2 separate regions of the Homo sapiens genome follow, and region 2 is linked to region 1. Evidence: promoter capture Hi-C in 16 types of primary human blood cells and fetal thymus (Javierre and others, 2016). All regions are on one chromosome and are shown on one strand. The core of a region is centred on a gene start or on the middle of the fragment in contact, and the rest is flanking DNA. Distances in the headings are between cores, read along the strand shown.

Region 1 (5,647 bases), core at 1,219-3,718:
TCATAGGGAAAATATTTGAAAAAAAAGCATCTGTACATAACATGTACTGACTTTTCTTGTCATTATTCCCTAAACAATGCAGTATAACAACTATTTGCATAGCGTTTACAATGTTTTAGGCATAACTAATCAAGGGATGATTTAAAGTACATGGGTGTGTGTCTATAGGTTATATGCAAATATTTCACTATTTTATATAAGGGATTTGAGCATCTGTGGATTTTGGTACCCTCTGGGCAGGAGGAGGAGGTCTTGGAACCAATGTTCAACCAATAACGGAGGATGACTGTATTGGATTCCTTTTTACCATTATTATTACTTGTAACTCAAAATATTTTATTTGCTGTTCACCATTAAGGAAGAAAAAAAAATTTAGTACTGAGCATGCTATTACGAAGTCAGTCATTGAGAGAAAACTATGCTTCTTTAATTTTCTGCAGTATATTATCTTCTTTTTTTTTTTTTTTTTTTTTTTTGAGACGGACTCTCACTCTGTCACCCCGGCTGGAGTGCAATGGCCCCATCTCAGCTCACTGCAGCCTCCACCTCCTGGGTTCAAGCAATTCTCCTTCATCAGCCTCCTGAGTAGCTGGGATTACAGGCATGCGCCACCACGTCCAGCTAATTTTTGTATTTTTAGTAGAGACAGGGTTTCACCATGTTGCCCAGGCTGGTCTCAAACTCCTGACCTCAGGTGATCTGCCCGCCTTGGCCTCCTAAAGTGCTGGGATTACAGGCACGAGCCACTGTGCCAGGCCAGTATAATATAGTACTGAATATAATAATTATAATAAGGTGTTTCCTCTTTGTTTGAAGGCTTAGAAGACAAATAGTTGGCTAAAAGTTATTCTATAACCCACATTGATTTCGTTTTGCAAATCAACAGATATTCAAAAAATCAAATGGGTAAAATATTTCGAGACAATCATTTAAAATTTTAAATTATTGGTGACATGAAGAACACTGAGATATGACAATCTTCCTTTATTTGCCTGACTCTGAGTGCAAGACATTGTTTCCTCTGTCCTAAATCAAATTGCCAGCCTTCACATAGCAATCAGGATGCGATTTGCAGAAGAATCATAACCACTCAGTCACAGGTCTTGGTAAGCAACAAGCTTTCCAAGTTTCACCTCTAAGAGTTTAAACAGATTAGAGAAAGAACGCTGATGCTCAAGAGCATCCAGAAGCCACTGTGATAATAATTAAGTGCAAAAGAAAATATATCATTACCATCAACAACAAAAATTGGGTACAAGTGGTTAGGAAATACAGCATATGCTAAAATAACAACAAAAACTCCAAAGCAAACAAGAAAAAAAGGTCATTCCAAAGATGAGGGAAAGTGCTGTTCATCTTGTAGCCATAATGTCTTTGGCATCAAAGCTTATAATCACAGATCAAAATATAATGCTGCTCATCAAGAATGCCAAAATGGGGACAAACTGTCTCTGTACACACAGGGGTTATTGGGAACCAAGCAGAAATGAAGCAGAAAATGTGGCCTGTTTCACATTCAAGACAGTAACTGAAGACAGCTTTTGTCTCATTTGCTTAACTTCCTCCTTTTAAAAAGGCAATTATTTCCTGGCACATTTATCTGTCACTTCAATTTAACAGCATCCTGCTAAAAGAGCTGATTATCTAATAATAAAATATATATTAAAAATGGCCAATATTGCTTTTATCACAATCCAAATTTCTCTCCCAAGTTTTAGAAAAGTCTTGTGAAATATGAAAATGGGAAGAAAATACCTTCTGTTTTGTTAACTGTCCAGTTACCTTGCTGGGCTGTGATTGGAGGTGTTACAGTCACGGCTGCCTCTTCGGTCAGTGCTGTCATTGCTGTATTAAGGGGGCAAAAGCATCTTTAACAGAGAGCCTCCTTCTATGTACAAGCAACAGATGGAAAGTATTCTTATTCTGTTTATTCCAATTTCTATTTTTTTAATTTATTACAGTTGAAATCCATAACGTGACTAGGGCAACATACTTACAGTTTCTCATCCATTCCATTGACTATATTAGGATTAAAGCAAATAAAAACCCAATATTTAAGACCATTGATACATTTACATATTAATTAAAAAATAAGAACCCTATAGTATAGTAGCTAAATGTATCAATTACTCTTCAATTGTATAAAGCAAACATTCTGGAGGTCTCAAAAAAGGTGTCAAAATATATTAGGAAAGGAACATACAGGACATAAGAAACTAAATTAATCCACAGATTCATTACTCTGATCTTTGTCATAAAGAACAACTGTTAGAAGCCAACTTCTCTCTAATGCAGAGAAAATAAATTCTATTCACATTTTACACTGATATAAAGTTAACAAAACAAAAGGAAATTACCTACCGTTGAATAAAAGATAGACTGATATTGGAACTCCCAAAGCCATTTCCTGTAGTTGCTTAACTTTCTTTCTCTTATCCTTCTAGACTGACGGGTGGAAGGTTTTTATTGAGCTCTCTGAGTCTTTGTTGCATTTATATTTCATGAAGCGTCATCTGGCAGTTCTTACCAATCAAAAAAATATGTACTTCTGGCAGCAGCAGAAAGCCTCTGGGCGCTCACGCACTTGGTTAGGATACCTGTATTATCTAGCAATGTGATCAAGTTTTCTTTTGAAACACTGGTTTCCTGTTACCTGTGGGCATAATCATGTATGTAAAAGTACTTAAAACAACAAGAACAAAATGTAATTTCAGGAAAGGCTCCCATTGGTGTGAAGAGAACTATACCAGCTCAAACTATGCTAGAAACCTATACGGGAGTTCAACAAACATAACTGCAAATTAGGAAGCAGCATAACCTGTTTCTAAAAGAAATATACCTGAAACTATAGTTGGTTATACCACCTTTTATTACAGACTATAAGTTCCATTTCAAATCAAGATAATTTGTTAATTTAGTTGCAGAGAACAGTTAAATTTGTGAAAACACAGAGGTTTCATATTCCATTTTAGTGTTTGTTTCTTAGTGTTACTATGACAAGTGCTGTAAATAAAATTATTTTTAATAGTATAATATTCACCTTTCTGTCATCCTGCTATTTAACATTTTTCTGAGTAAATGAAATGGGCTGCCATATTCCAGGAACAACAATGCTTAAATCTGCATCCCAATGATTAAGCTACAGAGAACCAGTAAAGTACCAACATAATGATAATAGCAATAATAATAATATTAAAATTCTCCATTAAGAGAAAATTAAGATGACATTTAGTTTGGATACATCCAATGAATAGAAAGTTTCTAAGTTAATACAACATTCAAATTATTTCTCAAGTTCATCTAGTTGTAATTATTAAAGTGGCACTTTAAAGGCCAAAATATGTCATTACAGCTACTATATTTTACAACTACAGAAATTTTCACTTGCCCCAAATTAATATAAATGATTTATAAATATATCTTCCTGAGGCATTGAGTCTTTCTGTCTGGAATTTCAATTCCTTGTATTTTCTTGAAACTTGAAACCTCAAAACCCTAAAAACATATTCAAGTCAAGATAGGTTATCTTTTGCATCATGTCCACTCAGCAAATTAGATTTACCAGAAAGGAGCCCTTTCACTATTCAAATATAAATGTGGTGTTAGAAATCACACAAGAACAAGCTTGTTGAACTCATTATAACTTGGGCAATCACTTGCCACAGGAGTCATCATTTTAAAGTTAAAATAATATAATAGTACTTGGCTCGCTTTAAATGTGTCTACATTTTGCATTTCTACTTTTGTAGGTTTTTAAAAAACTGTTGATTACTAAGTCGATTTCTAGATAATATATTTCCCAGGCAAATAACATTTGAATTATAAATTGAACAATCGTCTTTGCACCATTGCTGAGAATTTAAAAAGAAATCATTTACAAAAGATTAAATAAACCATCACAATTCTTTTTGTAGTTTCTGGAGGGAGATGTTAGGACTCATATTAAATACTTTCTTTTTTTTTTTTTTTGAGATGTTTTCTCACTCTGTCACTCAGGCTGGAGTGCAGTGGTGCGATCTCAGCTCACTGCAAGCTCCTCCTCCTGAGTTCATGCCATTCTCCTGCCTCAGCCTCCCGAGTAGCTGGGACTGCAGGTGCCTGCCACTAGGCGCTGCTAAGTTTTTGTATTTTTAGTAGAGACGGGGTTTCACTGTGTTAGCCAGGATGGTCTCGATCTCCTGACCTCATGATCCACCCACCTTGGCCTCCCAAAGTGCTGGGATTAAATAGTTTATTTCTAAGACTGAGACATCAAAGTACAAAGATTATCTTTGTAAAAACTCTTAACTGTAGCTAGTGCAGTCCTTTGCACTTTACAGGTTTCCCTACACATCTCAATTCTTTCTTCAGTAACCCTGGCCCAAACAAATCCAGTGCCTAACATCTAGTAAATACTCAATGAATCTGTCTTCAGAGAATAAGGAAATAAATAGGCATTATTTCTATTCTCACATGACAAATGACAAATTGAGGCCCAAAAGAATTAAGTGACTTGCCAAAGGACATGCCTAGAGTCAGCACTTCAATCCTGGCCAGGTGCAGTGGCTCATACCTGTAATCTCAGCACTTTCAGAGGCTGAGGGAGGAGGATTGCTTGAACCCAGGAGTTTGAGACCAGCCTGGGCAACAGAGCAAGACCCCGACTCTACAAAAAATAAATTAGCTGGGCATGAGTTACTTGAGAGGCAGAGGTAGGAGGATCACTTGAGCCTGGGAGGTCAAGGCTGCAATGAGCCATGATTACACCATTGCACCCCAGCCTGGGCTACAGACCCTGTCTCAAACAAACAAAACAAAACAAAACGAACAAAAAAAAGGACTTCAATTCTATATTTACAGATTCTAAATCGTATGCTCTTTCCATTTACCTAGCTGTGTTCTCTTGTAGTAGTTGTTGTACTGATCTCAAAAGAATTCCCTCAATTATCTCCTAAAATCAAGCTTTAAATAAATTACCTTTATTAGAAAAAAAACTAAATATTTAATTAACTGTGATTTTCACTCACATCTGTGCTGAGAGATGGAACTGAAGCCTCTCTGGTAAACTGGGCCACTTAATATAGAAACCCATCTTCTGCTTTAGCTTATGGAGTATACCAGAAAGTAACTTTAAGTCATCAAACATGTTGCCTTTCCTCTGGGGCCCATACTCATGGCTCCCACTTAACAATCTTTACAGGAAAGTCCACTCCCTTCACATCTTCAATCCTCTCACCCAAAAGTCCTTTCTCCAAATCCTAAAGAATGGGGGGCAGATGGATACTGTAAGGTGGTTTTTCTGATATCTTTATTCATTCTTAATATGCATTAAAGCAGGTTAGGGTGAGAAAGGAGAAGGAAATGAGAGGCTAAGAGCTCCACTACTACTTTTCTCTCATGCCATGTTTCCAGTCTTTTCAATTTACTTATCTCTCTTCTTCTAGAAGTTTATGCTAGAAGAGAGAATCTCTGAAAGTTTATTCTTCCCTCCCCTTTCTATCTTTTTTTCCTGGCTGTTTCACTAACTTAACCAAAATTTATTACTGGTCATTGGCAGAGAATGGTGATCAGTTCATTGATTCTCTCTCTAAGTTTATTCTATCACTTTCATGGATTCAGTTGCATTCATTCATAAAATATTGAATGACTACTATATCCATGGCACTAG
Region 2 (5,571 bases), core at 317-2,816, 730 kb after region 1:
GGCTCCCAACTGCTTCAGAAATGGCAGAGGAATTAGAACAGTAAACACTGACACTATGTGAACAGGAATGGGTAATATCACTTTAATTGTGGGGAGGCTGGGCTTTTGAGTTCTAGACTCTCTCTTGACTCTTTTCCTGGGATAAGTCCAGCTCAGGGAATGAGAACAGTTCTCACTGTTCTGAAGAAAGTAAGCAAGGTGAAGGAGAGAATGAGGAAATAAGATGAATATAAGGACACTATGTTTTGTTCATGCTTTATTCTGATAAAAATGAAATCCCAGATGTGAAACTACTTTGACAGAAAGCTATAAGTACTTTTGTAGCAGGAGTATTTATATTATAACTTTTGGAAATTTGAAGTTCTGGAAACACACCAGATTGGAAGATATTTTCTTTCTCTATCTCATTTTCATGGCTGAATGGATTAAGCCCAGATGAATGAATAATAAGAATATTATTGATCTCAAAAACCTCATGAATATATTTTTAAAGATGAGCCAAGAATTGGGTGTGGAGCGAGACAAAGGAAGAATTGAAAATAATTACATGGTTTTGGACCTGAAGAACCAGAAAGATGGAATTACATCAACTCAACTTGGAAAGAACCAATAAATATTTGTTGTATGGATGAAGGAATGGTGGAATGAAACCTAAATAATTATTGAGGCATATTGCTTTATAAAAGGCCTATCAGACCGGAGATTTGTTTGAACACTCTAATCAAAGGAAGGCTGAGTTCTTTGAGACATTAATCAAAACTTGAGATACAGTAAGAGAAAGAAGTTCATTTAAGTTTTAATTTCAATTTGCTTTTTTGAGTAATTGCCTCCTGTTGCAGGTGTTATTTTTTTCAAAGTGAGTTAAATACGAAAAATAAATTGGAAAATTATCTTCCTTCTTTTCCTGCAGCATGAACTTCTGATTGTGGTTGATTCTTGTTTTCACTGCAGAACAAAGACGACTAAAGAAGACAGACATTCCGCTACTGCAGAGGCTCCTACAGGGACCTTCTGAAAAGAATGCTCGCATTTTCCTCATGGATAAAGATGCAGAAGAAATTAGCAGTGATGTATGAATACCATCACCCTGAATCTGTTTTTTGCTTCCCTCCTGACTCAGCACCTCTTGCATAATTGTTCTGCTTTCTTTTTTTTTTCTTCTTCTTCTTTCTTAGGTGGCTCAGTACATTAACTTTCACTTTTCTCTCTTGGAATCCATTCTTCAAAGATTAAATGAAGAAGAGAAAAGAGAGATTCAAAGAATAGTAACAAAGTAAGTCAAGAGCATGCACATTGGATACTCCGTTCTTTAATATGTCCAATGCACAAAATATGTCCAATTTTTAATAGTCTTTCTTCTTCTCATTTTCAGATTCAATAAAGAAAAGGCGATTATACTGAAATGTCTTCAAAATAAACTAGTAATAAAAACAGAGACAACAGTTTAGCAGTACAAGCTTCTATTGCTAAAACATTTCAAAAAACTCAGAGATATTACTCTTTGATGAATGCATAAGTTCTGTACTTGCATTTATACGAACATATATGAGACTTGAATCGTAGAAAATTGAATGTCAAAAAAAGCTCATTTCTTTTTGAAGTGATGAGGTTAATTAGGGTTCACAGTTGGACAAAATGAGTTTGAGTTTAGTTTCAGTAACTGAAATAAGCTTGAATACTGCATATGCCAAATAGCTTTTATAGTAAACCATGTAATGAACTCAAATTTAAATGGTGTCTTCAGATAAGCAGTTTAAACTTCATTTAGCTTGGACTCTCAAGAGAACTGAAACATAATCAATGGATTCAGAAATGACTCAGAAAAAAGAAGCTGCCAGTTCTTGGAATGAAAAAGAAATACAGTCTTACACCATCAAGGAATCTACCTGATAGTGACAGTAGCTTCTTGAAAACTCTGGCATTTTCATAAAATCTAGGACTATCTTAAATGGCCTGTTGACTTCTGACTATCTGTAACATCAGAGCTGTCTGGCCTTTGGAAAGGAAAAATTATGGACTCTGTTAAGAAATCCTAATTGAAATTTTCTGAACCTCCCCCCAGCCCTTTTATTCTCTCTCTTCTGCTGATGAAAGACCTTTCATCAGTTCAAAGCTTTTCTTAAGCTCTTTTTTAAGTTAATTGAACTTTTTCTTTATTTATTTTTCAAAAAAATGTTTATATCACATAGACATATTACATCGGCTAAAGTAAGACTTGGCCCACAAATACCTATTTGTTGCTGAATGAATACAATGGATAAAGCAAGGCTGTTGTAGCTGAAGTTACATAGGGAATCCCAAACTCTGCCCTCTTAGCATCTTATTCTACATGACAACTCTCAAGGTACTCACAGATCTGTTTAACCCACTTGAAAAAAAAACACTAAAAATGAAGAAATGCTATAAGTATAAACTATGATTTTATTTATAAATTCTGTATTAAAATGGAATTATATGCAACATTCTTTCATTCTGTAAACTAATTCCATTTGCATTCCTCATAAGCATTGTAGTAAATTGATCATATTACATGTACTAAGGAATGAGATTATATGCAGTAAACCCAACTGGAAGATTAACAATATTAAAATATGAAACATTTTTAAGACAAAGGCATTACTTCTCAGTATTACCAAACCTAAACTGGTTGAAGGTGAAAGTGTGCTATGGCCTTTTCAAGCCTAAGAAGTCTCTCTTACTGAGTAAACCAGAGGCTTGCATCGCTATTCTTTCACCTGTCAATATTAATAAGAAAATAGTCTCATCTCACTTAAATGAGGCAAATGTAATAGTTAAAATTCAACATACTTATAAAAAACTAGTGTCATGTACCTGCCATGAACATGACAAAAGGTTAGTCTTCAATAGACTGAAATGTATAAGAGAAGAACCAAGTCTTACATAGAAAAAAAAGGTAGATATGAAAAGAAAAATCACAGAAGAGAGAATGCAAATGGCCACTAAGTATATGAAAAAAGTCGTATCTTAACAGTGAACAACTGTGTTAGTCTGTATCAATCAGAAGACAGAAACAAGGTAGTAATTTAAACAGGGAAAGTTTAATATAAATAATAATTAAGCTATGATAGGAGAATAATAATAAAGATGAAAAGAGAAGGTACCCTAAGGCTGAGGGAAAGAATCCTAACAAGGAAAGGCAGGAATGAGGGTTTCAGAATTCACTGGAGAAGGTGTGGTTGCAGCCCACTGGAGAGAAGTTTGCTGGCTTGCCCAGGCCAGAGCAGGACCACAGATACTGGACAAGCTGGTACAGCCAACCCCCTAGGTGTGGACCAGCTGAGGCAGGTGGGCAGATATGCAGAGGGACTTGGGGCTTTGCCAAAGGGTAAGCACAAAGAAGGAGTCACGGGTTCTGTTCGAGGCACTGTTGGGATTAGGAGCCGGAGGGACCTACTTTGCAGGAACCTAGCATAACTTTGTGTGACGAGACTGCACAAGACAAAGCTCAGGCAAGTGGCTCAGTAGTTGGCCAGCCCAGCAGGGTCCTCTGTATGAGTGTGCACCCAGCTGAAGAGAAGAAATGGAGAGCAGCAATTGGAGCTTCAGGACCGGCTTGCACTGTGGCTCCAGGTTATACCACCACTGCCCAAAGCAAAAGCTAGAGAAGCAAGTGGAGAAATGCTGGAGAAAGCTGCACCCTACAGGCAACCAGCACTGCAGAAACCACTCCAGGCAAAGTAGTGAAGGAAAAAAGCCTGCTCTCCAGTAGCCTGGCCTGTCAGCCTGGAGGAATCAGGAAAGACCCCTTCCTCTTGCAGTGTGTCTCCAGCGCCCTCTACTGACAAAGTATGCCATCATGCAAGCTGCAAAGGAAACATTTCAAGAGTCTATATCTATTTTCACGGAGCGGGCAACCAACAGTGAATGTGGAGCTGAGAGACAGTAAAATAATAACTGACATGCCACCGAAGTACAAAGTAAAATAAATAAATAAATACACATTTTGGCCTATTAGCAAAGATTAAGAAATGATAACATTAAATACTCAATAAATCACCATGAGATGGGGACTCAAACTTCTGGTAAAAATACAAATAGATATAATTTTTCTTGAAGGCAATTTAGTAGTCTGTTTATCCTATAATTCTACTTGTAAGATCCTATCATATGAAAATAACCAGAGATACAAAGACATTCTGCAAAGATATGTTTTATATTGTTATTTATTGTGACAAAAGGAAATAAAAAGCCTAAATGTTCAGAAAATTATTTTAAAAGATGAAAGAGGGAAATAGGCCATGGACGGTGGCTCACGCCTGTAATCCCAGCACTTTAGGAGGCCAAGGTAGGTGGATCACTTGAGGTTGGGATTTCGAGACCAGCCTGGCCAACATGGTGAAACCCTGCCTCTACTAAAAATACAAAAAATGAGCCGGGTGCAATGGCAGGCACCTATAATGCCAGCTACTCGGGAGGCTGAGGCAGGAGAATCGCTTGAACCCGGGAGGCGGAGGTTGCATGAGCCGAGATGGCGCCACTGCTCTCCAGCCTGGACGACAGAGCAAGACTCCGTCTCTAAAAAAAAAAAAAGAGGGAAATAAACATTTATTTGTATATTGTTATGTAGCCATTAAAATTCTGTTTCCAAGTAATTTTAATTACAGGGGTAAATTCTTATATATCTAAATAAGAATATACACATACACATGTTCCAAAATATTTATTATGTACTTAAGGCATATATATTATATATGTATGTGTGTGTATATATATATGTATTTGTGTGTGTGAACACTAATATTTGCATATATATACACACAAGAAATAAAAACATGTTAAAAATGGCTATATCTGCATTGTAGAATTATGAGTGATTCATGTTTTTCTAACTTCCCTATCTGTATTAAGTGTTCTATAGTTTATATTTGTTACTTTTTACATCAGGAAATAGTAAAGTTATTATTTAAAACTTATGAACAAAAAAGTAACAAGCACATGCAAGCACAGAGTTCTACCAAATGCAAAAAATTTCAAATCAATTATTCAAATGAGACATTAACATCACTTCTGTGGTAGTTTTATATCCATAAAGTCTGATTCTTCTCCTTTGAAGAGATGAAGCTTAATCTTCCTCATCCTGAAAATGGGCTGGACTTAGTGACTTACGTCTTTTTATTTTATTTTTAATTGACAAATAATAATTGTATGTATTTATGGGGTACAATATTATATTATTATATATGTATACATTATGGAATTATTAAATCAAGCTAATTAACATATCCATAACCTCTTATAATTTCTTTGTGGTGAGAACATTTAAAAATGTACTCTTTTAGCAATTAGGGACTTACTTTTAATACAGGAAAATGGAAGAGACTGTGAGACTTTGAAGTAGGTCATAAAAGTCACTGTGGCTTCCTCCTTGCTCTCTCTTGGACCACTTGCTCTGGGGGAAGTCAACTGCCATGTCCTGAGCAGCCCTGGAAAGACCTACATGATGAAGAACTGAGACCTTCTATCAAATGCCAGCAGGGAATTGAGGCCTCCTGTCAACAGCCATTTTAGAAGTAGATCTTCCAGCCTCAGTCAAGCCTTCAGATGACTGCA

What was found. The method cuts DNA at HindIII sites, captures the fragments that hold promoters and counts their contacts. A CHiCAGO score of 5 or more calls a contact.
Region 2: a fragment that was not itself captured here is called in contact with the fragment with the promoter of EPGN in region 1 in 2 of 17 cell types (endothelial precursors and M1 macrophages); the score reaches 5.3 in endothelial precursors.

The regions. Positions count from the first base shown.
Region 1 is chr4:74,305,291-74,310,937 of GRCh38, reverse strand. EPGN (epithelial mitogen) reads right to left here and starts at 2,468. Exons shown (of 5, transcript NM_001270989.2): 1 at 2,362-2,468; 2 at 1,756-1,845. The coding sequence starts at 2,404. All of the region lies in intron 2 of LOC105377276 (a long non-coding RNA gene), which reads left to right. The HindIII fragment of the contact is 2,238 bases long and covers 1,389-3,626 here.
Region 2 is chr4:73,572,112-73,577,682 of GRCh38, reverse strand. It overlaps RASSF6 (Ras association domain family member 6), which reads left to right. Exons shown (of 11, transcript NM_177532.5): 9 at 952-1,070; 10 at 1,176-1,273; 11 at 1,373-5,571. The coding sequence ends at 1,448. Among named protein-coding and RNA genes, the nearest start is that of RASSF6, 46 kb to the left of the region's middle. The HindIII fragment of the contact is 213 bases long and covers 1,460-1,672 here.